2 separate regions of the Homo sapiens genome follow, and region 2 is linked to region 1. The links are contacts of gene promoters, found by promoter capture Hi-C in human tissues and cell types (Jung and others, 2019). All regions are on one chromosome and are shown on one strand. The core of a region is centred on a gene start or on the middle of the fragment in contact, and the rest is flanking DNA. Distances in the headings are between cores, read along the strand shown.

Region 1 (3,642 bases), core at 690-3,189:
GGCGCATGTTTGAAATCCCGAGTGGAACGCATCCAAGTCGGACTGAATGGGCGATTTCAGAGATCGCTCCCCTAGGATGAGGAAGGGATGGGGGTGGGGGACGGAGGAGTGGAGGCAAGAAGAAACATACCCACGTTAAAACATCTGCTTATCACGTGGGCCCTGCATCGACTAAAGTGATCTCGGTTTTTCCCCAGTATTCAAGTGATATAATCCACCAGTTGACGAGAGAAGCGGGGTGGCGGAGGTGCGGAGCGGGGAGAGGGCGCTCTCCTCCCAGCTGAAAACCAAAGTGGAGCGGGTGCAACCGCCACTTTAAATCCTGATTCCTCCGAGTTCTGCTGAAAGCCTCTAGGATGCTTCGGGAAATGGGCTCGTTCCAATGAAGGGAAAGTATAAGCAATTTAACAAATGAGAGGGAACCCATGAGCCCACGGAAAGAGATGGGGTGCGGGTGAGGGAGTCCTGACACTGCTCCCCTGTGGGCTGCCCCGCTTCATCAGGGTAGGCTGGCCTCCCTGAACTGACTTACCATTCTGTAAAGCAATTATCTTCTGATGCTGTTGCTCGGTTAAGGCGGTTAAAGCTTTTAAGTGTTTCAAAGTTAATTCCAAGACTACAGCTTTCTCCAGATGTCCCAGAGTCTGCAGTGGTGCAAAAAAGAAACGGGCACTTGGTTACTTAAAAACACACATTTGGCTTAATTGGCTGTCCATTCAGCACAGCAATTTAAGCAAACACTTTGAAAGAAGTACTGTTCTTTTACTTCTTGAGCTTTCCACAAGACAGGTTATAAATGATTTCTTGCCTTCAGCTGGGAGCACCTACTCCAGTTTGCGGGAAACTCTGTACGGTATAGCACAAGTTTTAAGTCAGGAACTTATATTTACATTTATTCTTATATTTTCTGGGAGTCGCACCAGACTATTAACACGCCCTTGGAGAGCAGCAAAGAATGAAAATGTGCATCTTACTGTCAATTTCAGATGTTCAGGCAGTAAATCTTTCAGCTGAGCAATGCATTCATTAATTCGGTCTCTTCTTTTCTTTTCTATTAATCTGTGCGGTAATTTGTAGGTATCCTTAATATATGAGAGTCATGGAAAAGAGAAAACAGTAAGCGAAACATTCACTTATTGGATATTACCCTCGTCTGCCCCCCCCGCCCCCCCACCATAAAACATACTATGTGATAAACTACACCCAAGAAACCTCTTTCCTCTGGACTGTTCTGCAATGCAATTTAAATTCAGGTATGATGTTTAATATCCCCCTGAGAGTACCCAGCAAGCCACTTAAAATTCACAGTTGGGGAAGCTCAGGGGCTGGAATATATTTGCGGGCAGAGCTTCACTGTGAAATCAATGGCTCTAATTAACTACCCATGCAGGTTATGAGGAATATCGGGAACTTACACTTACCTTGGTGTCGTCTCGTTTCATGCTCCTTTTGGGTTTACACATATACAAAGAGGAATAGTCCAGTCTGCAAAACAGAAATCAGCATCAGGCACCCATTCGGGGAGGGGCTCTGCCCTCGCCAGCTCCATACCACTTTCTGGAGAAGAAAAAAATCAAACCAAAGCCTAGACAGATATTCGCAAGGGTGCGTGCACCTTACCCTATAAAATCTCTATGTTCCAGTAACTGTCTCTCTTGCAAATGAGGAATTCCTTCGTCCATGTTCAACTGCTGTTCGTTTCCTCTGTTTCGATTTTTGGGGCTCTGTACAATAATCTGTGGGACGGTAGGCTTGGGAGACCTTGGGGGGATCTGTGCGTCTCCAGTCTCTCTCTCGCTCTCCCTCTTCAGTGCAGTGTTGAAAGTGTGAAGCAGTTGGTCCCCCCCCTCCACCGCGCTCGCACACACACACGCACACACACGCACACTCGCGCCGGCCCCACTGCGCTGGTAGTTTGCTCTCACTCCAGGCAGTGTTTGGCCACAGGGCACGCGCGTCGCCGGCCAGACCAGCACCCAGCTCACGTGCGGAACGTACCATCCGCGGTCCAGCCCGGAGGGGGGCGGGGGAGGAGGGGCCGGGCCGGGCGGGGGCGTCGGGAGAAGGCGGCGAGAGAAGGCGAACGGCAGGAGGGGGCGGGGACACCTGATCAGGGCCACCGGAAAGGAAAAACAACTTCGGCCAAGCTATTCATCTTCCCAAAGGCGATGCAGTCGGCAGGAGGAGGGGGGAGTGGGGGTGCAGGGGTGCGGGGCAGCCTGAGCTTCCTTGGCTCCAAAATGCGACTCCCTGGGTTCGTCCGTTGTTACGGTGCAGGAATGTGAACGTGGCTTTTTGCTTTTCCACCGATTGTGCTGTTGGTTTGAACCATAGAAAGGAAGTGAAAAGAGAATTCGCGGTGGGTAAACTTGAGTCCCAAAGGAAATTTTGGAGACTTGTTTGCTCACTGATCAGTGGCCTGGAGGGACTCCTTGGCGCTGGGTGGAGAGGTTGCCTCGAGAAGAAGCAACTTGCAATCCGCTCCTTGAAGGATTTAAGATACATGAAAACGTTGTCACTGGGTCCGAATGTCGCAATCCAAGTGTCTTTCGGTGACACGGCGTCCCTGGGCCAACTAAACTTCCCCGCAGCAGCCGGAATTGCGGTGCCACTAATCACAGCAGCAGATGACGACGTTTGGGGCCGCGTGTGCTCCTGGAGGAACGCGGCGGGGAGCGAGCCGGGGTTGAGTGGGGGCTGGGAAGGGAGAAGGGGGTGGCACGAGAGGGGGTGGCACGAGAGGGGCTACCACAGAAAAGCTATGCAGCATTTATCACCCGCCCGCTCAACTCTGCCGCGTTCTGAGCCTCCGGTGACGCTACGTGCTTTCCCCATCCCCCCGCCCCCCCGCGCGATAAGAGACGCCCGGAGTGTGCAGAGCCCACGTTTACTACCGCTGGCACCTCCAAAGCCTCCCTCCTTAATCCGGTCTCAAACGGGTACCAGCACAGGGCCAGCAACGTGATCCGACCTGCCGCTGCTGCCACATCACTGCTCGGGGAACCCGTGCGCGCGCGCGCTCGCCCTGCAGCCGCGGCGCTCGGCGCCGGGAATCACAGGCCAGCAAGAGCCGGGTTACCTTTCCCCAGAGCCACCCTGGGAGCATGACTCACTGCTAGTGAGAGTTACCGGGAGGTGCCCGGGGATGCGCACTGCCCACGCCGCCCTGCCAGCCCAGGGGAAGGCATGTCCTGAGGGACTCCCAGGGGTGGGATGGAGGCTATATATATATTTCTCTAGATATACATAAAGACATAGAGAAAAAAACCAAGGTTTTTCCTGCACAGAGAGGGATATTTACATTCTCCCCGGGGTGATCTCTGAAACGTTGATTATTGCCGGTGATAAGTGAACCGAGGGGAGAAGAACGCCAAAGGTACATGCACCAGGGCGCAGCAGGGACTGGGGCGCCCGCTACGTGTCCCCCGGCCCGCCCCGCCGGGCACGGGTTCCGGGGACGGATCTGGGTCGCGGGAAGCGGCGGCTGGGAGGAGGTCACGTGTCTGCGGGAGTCGCGTCTCCTCCCCGACTCCAGGAGCAGCCCGGGCCGCGGCGGCCGCTCGCGCTGCTGCAGTCTCCGGAGTCCTGGGCGGAGACGCGCACTGCGTCTGGCTTCGTGACTCGGGCGGCGGCGGCGGCCCA
Region 2 (3,642 bases), core at 698-3,197, 160 kb before region 1:
TGAAATGGAGTCTTACTATGTTGCCCAGTTGGTCTTAAACTCCTGGCCTCAAGTGATCCTCCTGCCTCAGCCTCCTGAGTAGCTGGGACTACAGGTGTGTGCCACCATGCCTGGCTTCTGTATTTGTATCTTGATTGCCTTCTTTATCACTGTTAAATTTGCTTTTCATGATAGAAAAGCCAGACCCACACTTTTCTATATTCCTTCTTTGCTGGTTATATGTATAATATGAAACGGCCTTTGCAAATATCAGGTAAAAATGCATGTAGGTTCTGTGAAATATTCGTAGTAATAAATTGAGACACCTTTTAATTAGTGTTACCCTTGTGACTTTCTGTTGTACATAATCCTTTTTCTAAATACATCATTAAAATAATTATTTTTTTATCAGCATAAGCTTACTGAAAGGAAAAAAAATCTTACTGTGCCTTACTATTTTACAGAGCGTCACATGATAACACGTTAGTCAGCTGCTGTCGGCTGGTGGTGCCAGACATCAAAGGAAGATTGGGAAAACTTTAGTAGAAAAACAAGACCTAGAGTTCTAAGGATGCTCAGTGCTGTCCAGCTGTTGATGTGACTTGCATGGTAACCAGACATCACTGGACCATACACTTAAGAGAGAGGAGGAGTTTTTTTTAAAAAAAGTGGGAGCCACCTAGAAGTCTGGAAGTTCTTTTCTTCTCTCTCACTAAAGCATTCCTTGTTTTAGCCAAAAAAAAAAAAAAAAAAAAAAGTCTCATGACCTTCCAAGGCCAAGGAAGGCTTACAGCTTTGAGTATTTTTGTCATGTGGTTGCTCTTTACGAAATATTAGCTTGATGTCCTCTAACTCTGAAGTACTTATGTCTGTTATTGATGTTTGTAATCTCTACTTCTTACATAATTCTGCATTTTTCTCTTGACTTGTTTTTTAGGACTTTAGTATTCCTTAAAAATCATTTCCTCACACCCTTAGAGTGTAGTTCTAGTTCTTTCTAGTTTTGTATCTTATAGATCACTGAGTGTGTGGGGGCACTTTGGAGCTGATTCAAGTCCTTCAGAACGTACTCCTCTGCAGTCCACCTCGGGGGTTCCCAAACTGTGATCCTTTGAGTGGTCTGGACCCTGAGGTTTCCGTAGCCTGGGTGCTCTTGGGTTGGGAGAGCAAGGAGGATGAAAGCAGCATTTTTGAGCCCCTGTTGGGTGCTCTCGAAGAGGAGGAGTGAGTAGTTTATCTGGTCAGAATTGGAAAAGTGAAGCTTAGGCTTTCTTTCCATATATTTGCTTCACAAAAGAAAATTGTTCCTTTTGTTCCTACATTTCCCCACTCCTGATTTTCTAGTCAGGAAGGCATGAGAAGAGAGAGATGCCCCTGCAAGCCAGACCCTTACCCTGGTGCTTATTTAGACCTGATTTTAAAAATGTTGAGAGCAAGCCCTGAGAGGGGCACACCAGGTGATTTGCCTCGTGTAGGCCCTCTGTGCCTGCAGGACATTCGCATCACGAGTAGCTGCCACTGTGGAGGAGAGGAAAGTTATGGTTGGGAACCCTTGTTATTTTTTTTCCACCATGTATATATGTCCACTGGTTACTTGGGTGACCTTGAACAAGTTGCCTTGAGCTTTTTAACACCAATAATATTTATTACCCATTTATTTCACAGACTTGCTATAGGATTTAGAAAGCTATTCTTAGCAAGTGTTTTTTTTTTTTTTTAAATCACATTCAGATATATCACAAAATATTGCAGTGAACTGTAGGGCTGTCCAAATTTTATGTATGCAGCAAAATATTTTCTTACTCATTAGCATATGTTTTACTCTTTGTTTTAAAAAGAAATCAGATGTAAATGCAGGTTATAACAAGAGGAGAGCTGTGATGGTTTGCTACCAGGTTTTATGTAGGTAATATATTTTGTCACTGTTGTTATATTTGGTCACTGTTGTTAGCTATCATTGGCTCGTGAGTGCTAAATCATGTTTATCCTTATAGTAATTTTACTATTGGAAAATCGCTTAAGACTAAATTATTCTTCCAGATACAAGTATATATGTTTAAAAGAAATTGGGATTCTCTTTAATGGATAGATATTGGGCAGAAAGTAAGGTTTTACCCTTATTTTTGCTTAAAATATTTGAGTGGATTTATAATCGATGAAACTCTACTGTAAAAATACCAGTGAGAAATAGGGATGTTTTGTAATGTTGAAGGTAAAATTTGTTCATTTCTATGGGAAGTTCTAATACGTTAAATGTCAGAATATCTTATAGTAGTTTATTTGTGCTGTATTTTTTCTTTTTAGTGTATAATGACTTCCCTTATATTTCTTTTTTTAAACAGCTTTATTTAATTAATTAATTTATATATTTTTTGAGACGGAGTCTTGCTCTGTCGTCCAGGCTGGAGTGCAGTGGCACGATCTTGGCTCACTGCAAGCTCCGCCTCCCGGGTTCATGCCATTCTCCCGCCTCAGCCTCCTGAGTAGCTGGGACTACAGGTCCCCGCCACCACGCCCAGCTAATTTTTTACATTTTTATTAGAGACAGGATTTACCATGTTAGCCAGGATGGTCTTGATTTCCTGACCTCGTGATCCGCCTGCCTCGGCCTCCCAAAGTGCTGGGATTACAGGCATGAGCCACCGTGCCCAGCCTTAAACAGCTTTATTGAGATATCATTGACACACAATAAACTGCACATACCTAACTGTACAATTTTACAAGATTTGATCTATGTATACACATGAAATCATTCCCACATCACTTTCCCAAATTTCTTTTTTTTTTTTTTTTTTTTGAGACAGGGTCTTGCTCTGTTGCCCAGGCTGGAGTACAGTGGCATGATCTTGGCTCACTCAACCACTGCCTCCTAGGTTCAGTCAATTCTGCCTCAGCTTCCCGAGTAGCTGGGACTACAGGCTTGTGCCACCATGGCTGGCTAAGTTATGTATTTTTAGTAGAGACTGGGTTTTGCCATGTTGGCCAGGCTTATCTCTCCACCTCAAATGATCCGCCCACCTTAGCCTCCCAAAGTACTGGGATTACAGGCGAGAGCCACCATGCCCACCCCAAATTTTCTCATTCTCCTTTGTAATTTATCTTCCTTTCATTCTCCCGTTTCCTCTAAACCACTGGTCTGCTGTCACTATAGAGTAGTTCAAATTTTCTGGAATTTTAGATTAATGGAATTATGCAGTAATATACTTTTTTTTGTTGTTGAGGCTTCTTAAACTCAGAATAATGGTTTGGAGATTCATTCATGTTGATTTATGTAGTAGTAGTTTATTCCTCTTCATTGCTGAGTAGTATTTCATTGTGTGAGTACACAGCAATTCATTTATCTACCTATTGATGAACATTAGATTTGTTGCTAATTTTTGGCTATTACAAATAAAGCTGTTATGAATACTTGCATACAAGTATTGTATAGACATATACTTTCATTTATCTTGGGTAAGTACCCAGGAGTGGAATGGCTGGATCTTATGGTAGGTGTATGCTTAGCTTTTTAAGAAACTGCCAAACTGTTTTCCCAAGTGATTGTACCATTTTACATTCTTAACCACCAGCAGGTAAACATGCTGTTTCCTTTGCATCCTTGTCAACACTTGGCATAGTTGGTCTTTTTTAGACATTTGTGGTATTTTATTGTGGGTTTTTAAA

Evidence for each region. Contacts are between HindIII fragments. The study calls those that stand out against the background at their distance.
Region 2: a contact is called between a fragment that was not itself captured here and the fragment with the promoter of BHLHE41 in region 1, in 1 of the 25 tissues and cell types used here (hippocampus).

What each region holds. Positions count from the first base shown.
Region 1 is chr12:26,123,098-26,126,739 of GRCh38, forward strand. BHLHE41 (basic helix-loop-helix family member e41) reads right to left here and starts at 1,940. Exons shown (of 5, transcript NM_030762.3): 1 at 1,621-1,940; 2 at 1,422-1,485; 3 at 975-1,082; 4 at 533-644; 5 at 1-71. The coding sequence starts at 1,682. It also overlaps a transcript of SSPN not described here. RefSeq lists a silencer at 3,352-3,521. The HindIII fragment of the contact is 3,249 bases long and covers 1-2,425 here.
Region 2 is chr12:25,962,608-25,966,249 of GRCh38, forward strand. The region is part of intron 1 of RASSF8 (Ras association domain family member 8); the gene reads left to right. Among named protein-coding and RNA genes, the nearest start is that of RASSF8-AS1, 5.0 kb to the left of the region's middle. The HindIII fragment of the contact is 5,796 bases long and covers 1-3,642 here.